Linked DNA regions of Homo sapiens: region 2 is linked to region 1. Evidence: promoter capture Hi-C in 16 types of primary human blood cells and fetal thymus (Javierre and others, 2016). All regions are on one chromosome and are shown on one strand. The core of a region is centred on a gene start or on the middle of the fragment in contact, and the rest is flanking DNA. Distances in the headings are between cores, read along the strand shown.

What was found. Contacts are between HindIII fragments. The CHiCAGO score rates a contact against its expected background, and 5 or more counts as called.
Region 2: a contact is called between a fragment that was not itself captured here and the fragment with the promoter of ART4 in region 1, in 1 of 17 cell types (erythroblasts). The highest score is 5.2, in erythroblasts.

What each region holds. Positions count from the first base shown.
Region 1 is chr12:14,841,508-14,845,849 of GRCh38, forward strand. It overlaps ART4 (ADP-ribosyltransferase 4 (inactive) (Dombrock blood group)), which reads right to left and starts at 2,019. Exons shown (of 3, transcript NM_021071.4): 1 at 1,463-2,019. The coding sequence starts at 1,606. The HindIII fragment of the contact is 16,901 bases long and covers 1-4,342 here.
Region 2 is chr12:14,955,648-14,959,989 of GRCh38, forward strand. The region is part of intron 1 of ARHGDIB (Rho GDP dissociation inhibitor beta); the gene reads right to left. Among named protein-coding and RNA genes, the nearest start is that of ARHGDIB, 3.8 kb to the right of the region's middle. RefSeq lists enhancers at 519-688, 4,297-4,342. The HindIII fragment of the contact is 2,551 bases long and covers 1,719-4,269 here.

The DNA of each region.
Region 1 (4,342 bases), core at 769-3,268:
CCTCTTTCTAGTCTCTCACTGGTGTTTTCAAAAATATCACTTTTATGAATGCCCAAAACCAAATTAAATCCTTGAACTTTATCCTTAAGCTATGAATAGTACTAAGGGGGCTCTCATAAGTAACAACCTTCTTGTCTACCTGGGTTCTGAAAACATTGATAATAAAAATAGCAAAATATGAAAGCCAAAATATCTGTTTTCTTACTGAAAAAGGGCACGCTACAGCAGTCACATTGTTAGGTCTGATAGCAAGTGGCTTGTTAAGAGCAAATTCCAGAATGGGACCGACTCGTTTGCAGGCAGTACTGAACTGGGGCCTGCCCAGGTAAGATTCTTGTCATGGGGAAACAGAGAACTGATGCCCTTTGCCATCAGGCTAACTCCCAGGAGGATGAAGAGCAGAGCCAAACTCAGCACACCCAGTTGTTTTTTCCCATGTTACCAGTCAAGTACATTTGTCCCCCTCAGGGACAGCAGAGTGAGTCAAGGGTTGGACAGTGGTCAGGAATGTGCCTAGGAAAGTCCCTCCCCTCCTGGAAAAGGACATTCCTTTCTAATGGGTAGCCAACAGAATGTTGTTTATTCACGTCTAGTGCATGCTAAACTGAAATGACAGATTTGAATAGAAGTCCACAAAATATCATCAGACTATCATTTAGAGCCATATATAAATTATATAAATTCTAAAACATTCCTTTCTTGGCAAAGAAATGATGTTTTCGTAATAAACAGTACTCATTGAGGGACATGTTAAAGGATCACATTCCATCCAGTCAATGTTAAGGATGTTGGAACTGGAACTTAAAGAACATCCCATTTGGTATTTTTACTATGTTATTTATGATGAGACGTCAGCTAGTTGTTTGTGAACTAGAACACATTTTTAAGACTGATTAAATGATTTTAACCAATAACTCTTCACATCAGGTATTAAAATAGGTCTACGGTATCTATTTAAGCCAAGCCGAGCCAAACCAAACCAATAATACAATGTTCTGTCAACTGTCATGATGAACTCTGAAACTTTGTTAATATGTTACTAGATCTCAAATATGTACTCTGTCATCTCTTAACATTAGGTTGTTTTTTGTTACACAGATCTTTATTAAAATATTCACTTAAAACTTAAGTCAATCTGTATGCTAGAGTTTAAAGCCAAATAGACTTGGTTTATTTTGCATTGTTTGTACTATGGAAGCAATATTTTACTTAATTTTTACAGTGGATCAGGAAAATAACTTTATGCCACTAGCATCCATAATGTCAAGTGTACTAACAGTGAAGGATTCTACAATTTTTCATAACTGTTTTCAACACTCTTTACTAACATGATTTGTTAAAATGTCTGAATGAAACTAGATTCTGAATGCCTAAGTTTTCGGCCATTTAAAGGCTGTGGCCGGGTGAATGCTCTGTTGGAGCACTGATCATAAAGAGATCACCCCCTCAATTGTCCCCCTACCTCAGAACCCTCTGTGGGTCTCTGCAGGCCAGAGAGGAGCAGCAGGAATGGCAGCAGGCCTCCAAGGAGCCAGATTCTCATCGTTGCAGGAGGTACAGTAGTTGGGAGAAGAATCTTCTTGCATCTGTTGATCAATGGACCCATTTGCTTGTGTCACAAGTACTTCTCCTTTGCCCTTGCAGCTTCATCCTGAGATGAATTCTCAGAGTTCTCCTTTGAGGTTTTCTTTCAGTCTCATCCGTAACCGTTTTTTCCCCTGTCTATGCTGAGCAACTTCTGTTGCCCACCAACAACCAATAGCTTGTCTGAGGGAAGAAATCAACTCCGACTTCTTTGCAAAACTGAAATCTCTGTGAAATAGCCAGATGCGCACACCAAATAAGGGTTTCTAAAGAGAACCCAAGTTACTTTTCAATTAAAAAAATAAAATCTCTGATCTAGTCTGTATTCAGGGGAATGCCGAAGTCCTGTTAAGTGTCAGACTCAGCAGTTCAGCCTTCCCTTTCCCAGCCAAACAGGAAAAAGCATGCTCTGTCCAGCGTTTGGGGCCAAGTAGCATTATCTGGAGCCCCAGGCTTCCATCAAAACTGATAAGATTGGCATGCGCAGGGCGGCTGGGAACGCGCCACCCTGGGTGTCTATAGGCTCATCTGGCCCTGCTGATAGGCCCTGCCCAGGACGGGCGTTCACAGAGCAAAGTGTGTTTTAGAGTTATTGTCAAAAAGAAGGCTCTTTGTACTGCTTTTCCCTGGCACCTTTGAAACTCTCCAATCCAGAGATTGTACCTCTGGGTTCAAAGCTCTTCCCCCATTTTCTCTTCTGAAGACAGGCCCTCTGTCCGCACAGTTCCAGTCTCCAGTGAATCCTAATGACGACTGTCAGGAGACTGCTTATGTAGAGCTGACATAAGTTAAAATAGGGTCCACTGTGCAAACTTAATCCAGCACAGTTCTATTAAGCACTCTCTTTTAGGTAGGTACTACCCTTTCTAGTCTAAACATCCTTCTTCTCCTCCCAACCCTTGATATAATTATATTTTCTTGCAAATATTTTGTATTTATACTTCTGGATTCATTATTTAAGAAACTAAAAGTTAGCAATCCTTGATAATTGTTTTTCTTGCAAATATTTACTTCTGGATTCAATTTTTAACTTTTAAGGTAAACTAAGTGCTGTTCTTAAGTATTCTAGAATTTTTTGGCACCCTGAATTTTTTTAATCTAAATTTTCTGATGATCACAGCAGTTCTGTCTCATTAACAAATATTCAGAATATTTAGAAAGCACAAAGGAGAAAAAAATGACACATAACCCGTCACTTGGAGACAGCCACTAATTAGGTCTGGATTTTGATTTATACACCCTTAGACATACACACACACAGGTTTCTAGAACTGAAATAATATAGTATGCAGTTTTGCATACTGTTTATTCCCCTTAATATTTTAATGTAAGCATGTCCCTATATAATTTAATACCTATTGAAACATTTTTTAAACAAAGGTTCACTATATTCCATTACATAGGTGCTGCCACACAATGGGACAGCATGGGTGGATCCATGGACAGTCTCAGAAGAAGATTGATAAGTGACTAGAACATGGACTCTTGAATAAGACATCTCAGTTCAATTCCTGGTGCTCCTTCTTCCTAAATGTGTGATCTTGGACAAGCTACTTAACCTCTCTGTCTCTCTGTTTCCTCATGTGTTGAATGGAGATAATAATAGTACCAACTTCATTTTAGTGTTGATACATTCATACTCCTTAGAATAGCATCTGGCACCTAGAAATTTTCCAACAAATAAAACCAATTATTATTATTTGCACCAAAGTTTATTTAATAAATATCTTATATTTAGCTTGTTTTCAACTACATAAATTTTTGTGTGTTTCTCACAATTTTTAAGATGCAGTTCTAGAGATGTGACTACTGATCCATGGAATGCATATTTTTCAGATTTAATGGCAACCACTAGCAGTGTGTGAAAATATCCCTTTAAGACTTTAACAATTCTTAAGGTTCCTTATTAGCAACTGTTACTTTGGAATATTGAGATGTCATGAAGAGAACTAGACTTAGAATATGAAAATTTGAATTATAGTTTGAGTTCTACCCACAATGCTGGCTGAGGTAACTTTAAAAAATAAGTAATTTGTGCTTAGCCTCAGTTTCCTTAACCTTATAGAAAGTTGTCAGGCTTAAATAAGGTGAAACTTTTCTTTTATTGAGCAAGTACTGTACTTCAAGACCTTTTTGCATGTTATCTCAACCCATGGGACGACCATGAAGAGATATTTTAACCTTTCCTTTATAAATGTGGTTGTTGAGGCCCTGTGAAGTTTAATAACTTTTTAGTAATCACAGGTGCTTTTCTGTCTCCTGAAGCCCACGATCTTAAAACACTCTAAAAGAGTGTGTCATTTTATTATTATCTTCTATAAAGGTTTTGCTATTTTTCCTATCGTGACTGCCACTTCCAGGATAAGACCACTGGAGGGCAGCAGAAAACTTTGTAACATTTTATACCACTCAGTCTAAAAGAGGGAGAACAGAAAAGGGAATGGGGCAGGGAGCAGGAAGGGGGATAGAAAGAGAGAGAGAGAGGGAGAAAGATAGAGGGAGAGAGGGAGAGAGAGTGAGGGGGAGAGCAAAAGAGAAGGGGAGCGAGAGAGTGGGGAGGGGAGGGGAGAGAGAGAAGGTAGGGAGAGAGAGAGAAGGTGGGGAGAGAGAGAGAAAGAGAGAGACAGAGAGAGAGAACCATCAGTGAAAACAACTGGGGTAGGGAAAAGCTCAAGTTCTGGTGTATATGTGAACATATTTGAATTAAAATGAAAAGTTAAGTTTTCTGATTGTTTGGAGTCAATAAAAAGTCATCTTT
Region 2 (4,342 bases), core at 1,744-4,243, 120 kb after region 1:
TTATTTCTGGGTAACCTCAGTTTCTCCCGAAGCCCCAGCCATAAATGGCATATACAGTTTGACAATGATTTCTCAAATTATCTGTGTGCATATTTAACCACAAACAACAATTTTCTCTTTTTATCCTCCTATTTTATGGATGTGTGTTGAAATGAGAATAGGAATTTTATGAAAATTCTACAGACTGTTTTCCAATCCCATCATCTAAAGGACAACTGATTTTCCTATTGATAATATTGATATTATTAATACAAATTATAATAGTTATCACATGTAGTGCTAAGTGCTTTCTAGAGGATTATCTCATTTAGTTCTTACAGTAACTTTGTTGGCATCATCATTCTCTTTTCCAGACCAGGAAACTAAAGTTCACGTTAAGTAACTTGCCTAAGAAGACATACCACGTGGTAGGCAGAATTAATGTCTGCGCCCAGGTTGTCTGACTTTTAGGCACTATGCTTTATTGCTTCAGTCATCTTTAAGAAGTTATAATAAAATTAGAGTTTGTTAGTCATCTTGGGAATCTACCTGGAGGTGCACAAGCAGAGGTAAATGCTTCTTTGCAAGCTCTGCAGAGACAGCTTTAACAAAGCAGGGAAGTGTCAGATAACGATGTTTCAGCGCAACTCGGTTCCTGCGTTACCTCCTGCAAGTTGCTTAACCTCACTGGGCCCCAGTTTCATCCTCTGCAAAAAGAAGCCGTGGCATGAGAGGATCTCTGAGGCCCCTTCTTAATTTAATGACTCAAATGCTCCCTAATTTAAAGAAGCTTGTGAAATGAGAAAAGAAAAGAGGAAGTAAAAGGGAGATTGGGGAGGACTCAGCCCATCAGCATAGAATCTTCTGGATGGGCTTTCCTCACCTTCCTCAGCTGCTCATCCCCTATTCTACAAAGGGCAGAGCTGAGTTTTGCTTATTTTTGACTTTGGTCCTTTGCACAGGAAAAATGAAATGGAGAATGAACAGTTATATGTTTAACCAGGTTAATGTGGACCCCATTTATTAGGCCCCAAAGCACATATCATTTTTTCACACAGGCTTGCTACTCTAGTTTTCTGTATTTTCTGCTTCACAGATGCGCATACAGATTAACTTTCACATTGGAGGCCTCACATCCTCATGTTTGCTACTCAGCAAAGCACTGGCAAGCATTAGATGTGCTGAGATGGGGACTTAATCTTCTCAGGCTCAATTAAAATGTCGAATTAAATTAGGATGGTTACTCACAGCATGCATATGACATAGCACACATCAATGTTTTTGCTTGCAAATTCAGTGAAATTTCCAAGACTTTGAAAGTGAATTACACTTAAAAATTTACACCCATGTCAGGATAGAGCATCATCTGTTTCATTAATGCAGCTCTAAATGAACTGAGGACAAGAAAAGGTAGAACTCCTGAGTTTAGATTAAACAAATTACCTGGGTAATTCAGAGAAAGGTGACTTTCATGTCTCATAGAACATAGATTGAGTCAGATGGACCAGGGATTCAAAACCAGGCTCTGCATTATGACAGGACTCAATCAAGTTGCTAATTTCACTGAGCCTCAGTTTTATCACCACTAAAATGGGGATATTCTTTTTTACGGGGTTGAAAGATTGGAGAAAACACATGAAAAATTATAGGACTATACTGGTCAAGAATAGATGTTCCGTGAATATTTGTTCCCTTCCTCTTCTTCCTTCCCTGCCCCAGTGTGGTCTGCTTTGTTGCAAAGCTTCACTGAAGCTAGGTAACTGTTTCCACACCAAATACTTTCCCCTGGATGGGAGCTATGTCCCCACTCCTTCCTCCTTAAAAATAGATTTTTGTCTTTGAGGAGTATTAAAGAGATAAGAAGTTCTGGGGAATTGAAAGGATTGTTTAAAAACTGAATCAACCTTAAAATGAGACTATATTATATTTCTTTTAAAAACTTTCATGTAAACAATTTAATTTTAGGTTTTATTTATTGCTCCCTGTCTTCATTGAAGCCAGAGGTCACTCTGCGAATGATGAGAAATGTCAGTGAACACAGGCACAGCTAATGAAGAGAATTCCCTCTGGCTCTGGAGCAAAATACCACAGAGACTTAACTCACGGCCCAAAGCTGGATCTGCAAAATTGTGCTGGATTATGCATCTAGACACACAGGCCATGGATATTAATGTATTAGGTAGAAGAGATAGCGATGAGAGAGAGAGAAGGAAGAGGGGAAAGAGGGAGAGAGAAAGAGGAGAGAGAGAGGAGGGAGAAGGGAGAAAGAGAGAGAGGGAAGAGAGAGAGAAAAGTGGAAATACCAGAAGTAGGGGATTTCTATCAGAGAAGTTCCTATGTGAGCATCAGCATTCTCTGTAACTCCTGCTACCTCCACTTTCCCTGCTGACTAGGATATGTCTGACTTCCCCCAAATCGGGCTGTGGGTCTAGTGCAGGTCTGGAGAGTCAGGCCATCTCTAAAACACTGTTGACATTTCAGAGCTAGTCAAGGATTTGAATGTGCTGTGCTGCTTGCCTGGCAATTTGGTGTATTACGGGATTGCAAATTTGTCTCTCAGGACACCAGAAGCCTTCTTGGTTCGGGATTCCACCCTCTCCCCACCGCCCCTGTCCCTGGTGACATGGAGGAATCCATACTCCCCACTTTGCGGTGCTGCTTTCTACCACCTCAGCCCCATGAAGGACTACGAAAACTTCAAAACTGGATGAGAAAAACCAAAGACAAGATTATTTTGTAAGAGACAATAAATATTGTAATCAATCCAGAGAAGGGCACAAATTACTAGAAACGTAATTTCTTACCATTTGTCTTTGTGAGAGAAACAATTTATTATTTCTTGCCTGTGCATTTTTTAGTGTGTTTTTCTAACCCACATTCATATGCACAAAGAGAGAGAACTCAAAGAGATCCCGTGAGCTTTGCTGAGTGCCCAACGTGTGAAGTCATGCCACCAAGTACCTTCACAAATATTATTTTAAATAATTCTCAAAGAAAACTGTGCATTAAGGAAGCCATTGCCTTCAGTATCTCAATATATTCACAAAAGTTTTAAATTAGCATGAAAAGTTAGACAGAATTGAGAGAGAATTTTTTTTATGACCGTTTGTGCTAAGATTATTAGGCTCTTTAAGAAAGCCCAAGTGAATTTTTACCAGCGGTAAAATTCACTCTTTGGCTGTGGACACCAGAGAGTAACACAACACAGGATGATTCAGGATGTGCTTATTGCACAGATAAATGTTGCTGACGTTTCAGGGGCAACATGAGACTCATCTCTGGGTATGCCAGTGTAGCCTTGAATACAGGATCCCGGGCAGCAATAACACAAACCAGGAATAAGAACTCTCAAAATATGGAATTGGAGAAAATTTCTTCCATGTGATTCTTCCTAAAGAATGTGGGAGATCACCTGAGCCTCAGGAGGTCGAGGCTGCAGTGAGCTGCGTTCACGCCCCTGCACTTCAGCTCGGGTGACAGAGTGAGACTTGTCTCAAAAAAATAATAATAGGCCATGCATGGTGGCTCACGCCTTTAATCCCAGGACTTTGGGAGGCCAAGGCAGGCGGATTGCTTGAGCCCAGGAATTCAAGACCAGCCCTGGCAACATGGAGAAACCCCGTCTCTACTAAAAATGGTAAAATTAGCCAGCGTGGTGATGCGCGCCTATAGTCCCAGCTACTCGGGAGGTTGAGGCGGGAGGATCACGTGAGCCTCCTGAGTAGGTAGGACCACAGGCACGCACCACCATGCCCTGTGAATTGCAATTCAGAGGCATTGTGGCTATTGATCCTTTTTGTATCAGTATGTAATTTTAGTCAAATTATTGAACACTTCTGCATTCTTCTCAGGAACAAAATTTGAAAGTTTTTATCACCAGGCCTGACACATAGAAGGCACTCAATGAATGTTGGTTCTCCTTTTCTATCTGCATAATTTCGACTCCCCAGGGCTTCTCTTTTCCTGCTAGCTGATGTTTGTCATGTACTGTGCTCTCCCAAATCAGCTCAGACCCGTATCTTTCCCTCAGAATGACTTTGTGGTGCTGAGTGTCTACTGAAAACAGAACCTTAATGTTGCTCAGAGCTAACTTCCCTAGGGGACAAACTCATGCTCTCCAAAGCAAGGAAGGACCAAATTCCAGTCGAGGCCTGAAAAATGCTTGCCAGTTTCTGTTCAGTGACAGCATAGTTAGTCCTCAGGTTTTGCATCTGTGAAGCATGGATGGAGAAAGAACTGTCTCTTAGAATTTCACACATCTCACAAAAGAGTAAGATGCTCTTGTTACTAAGCTTGTGCTATATCTGCTTTGGGAGGGAATATATTCTTACAAATTAAAAAAACACAAAGCCAATGGCAAGAT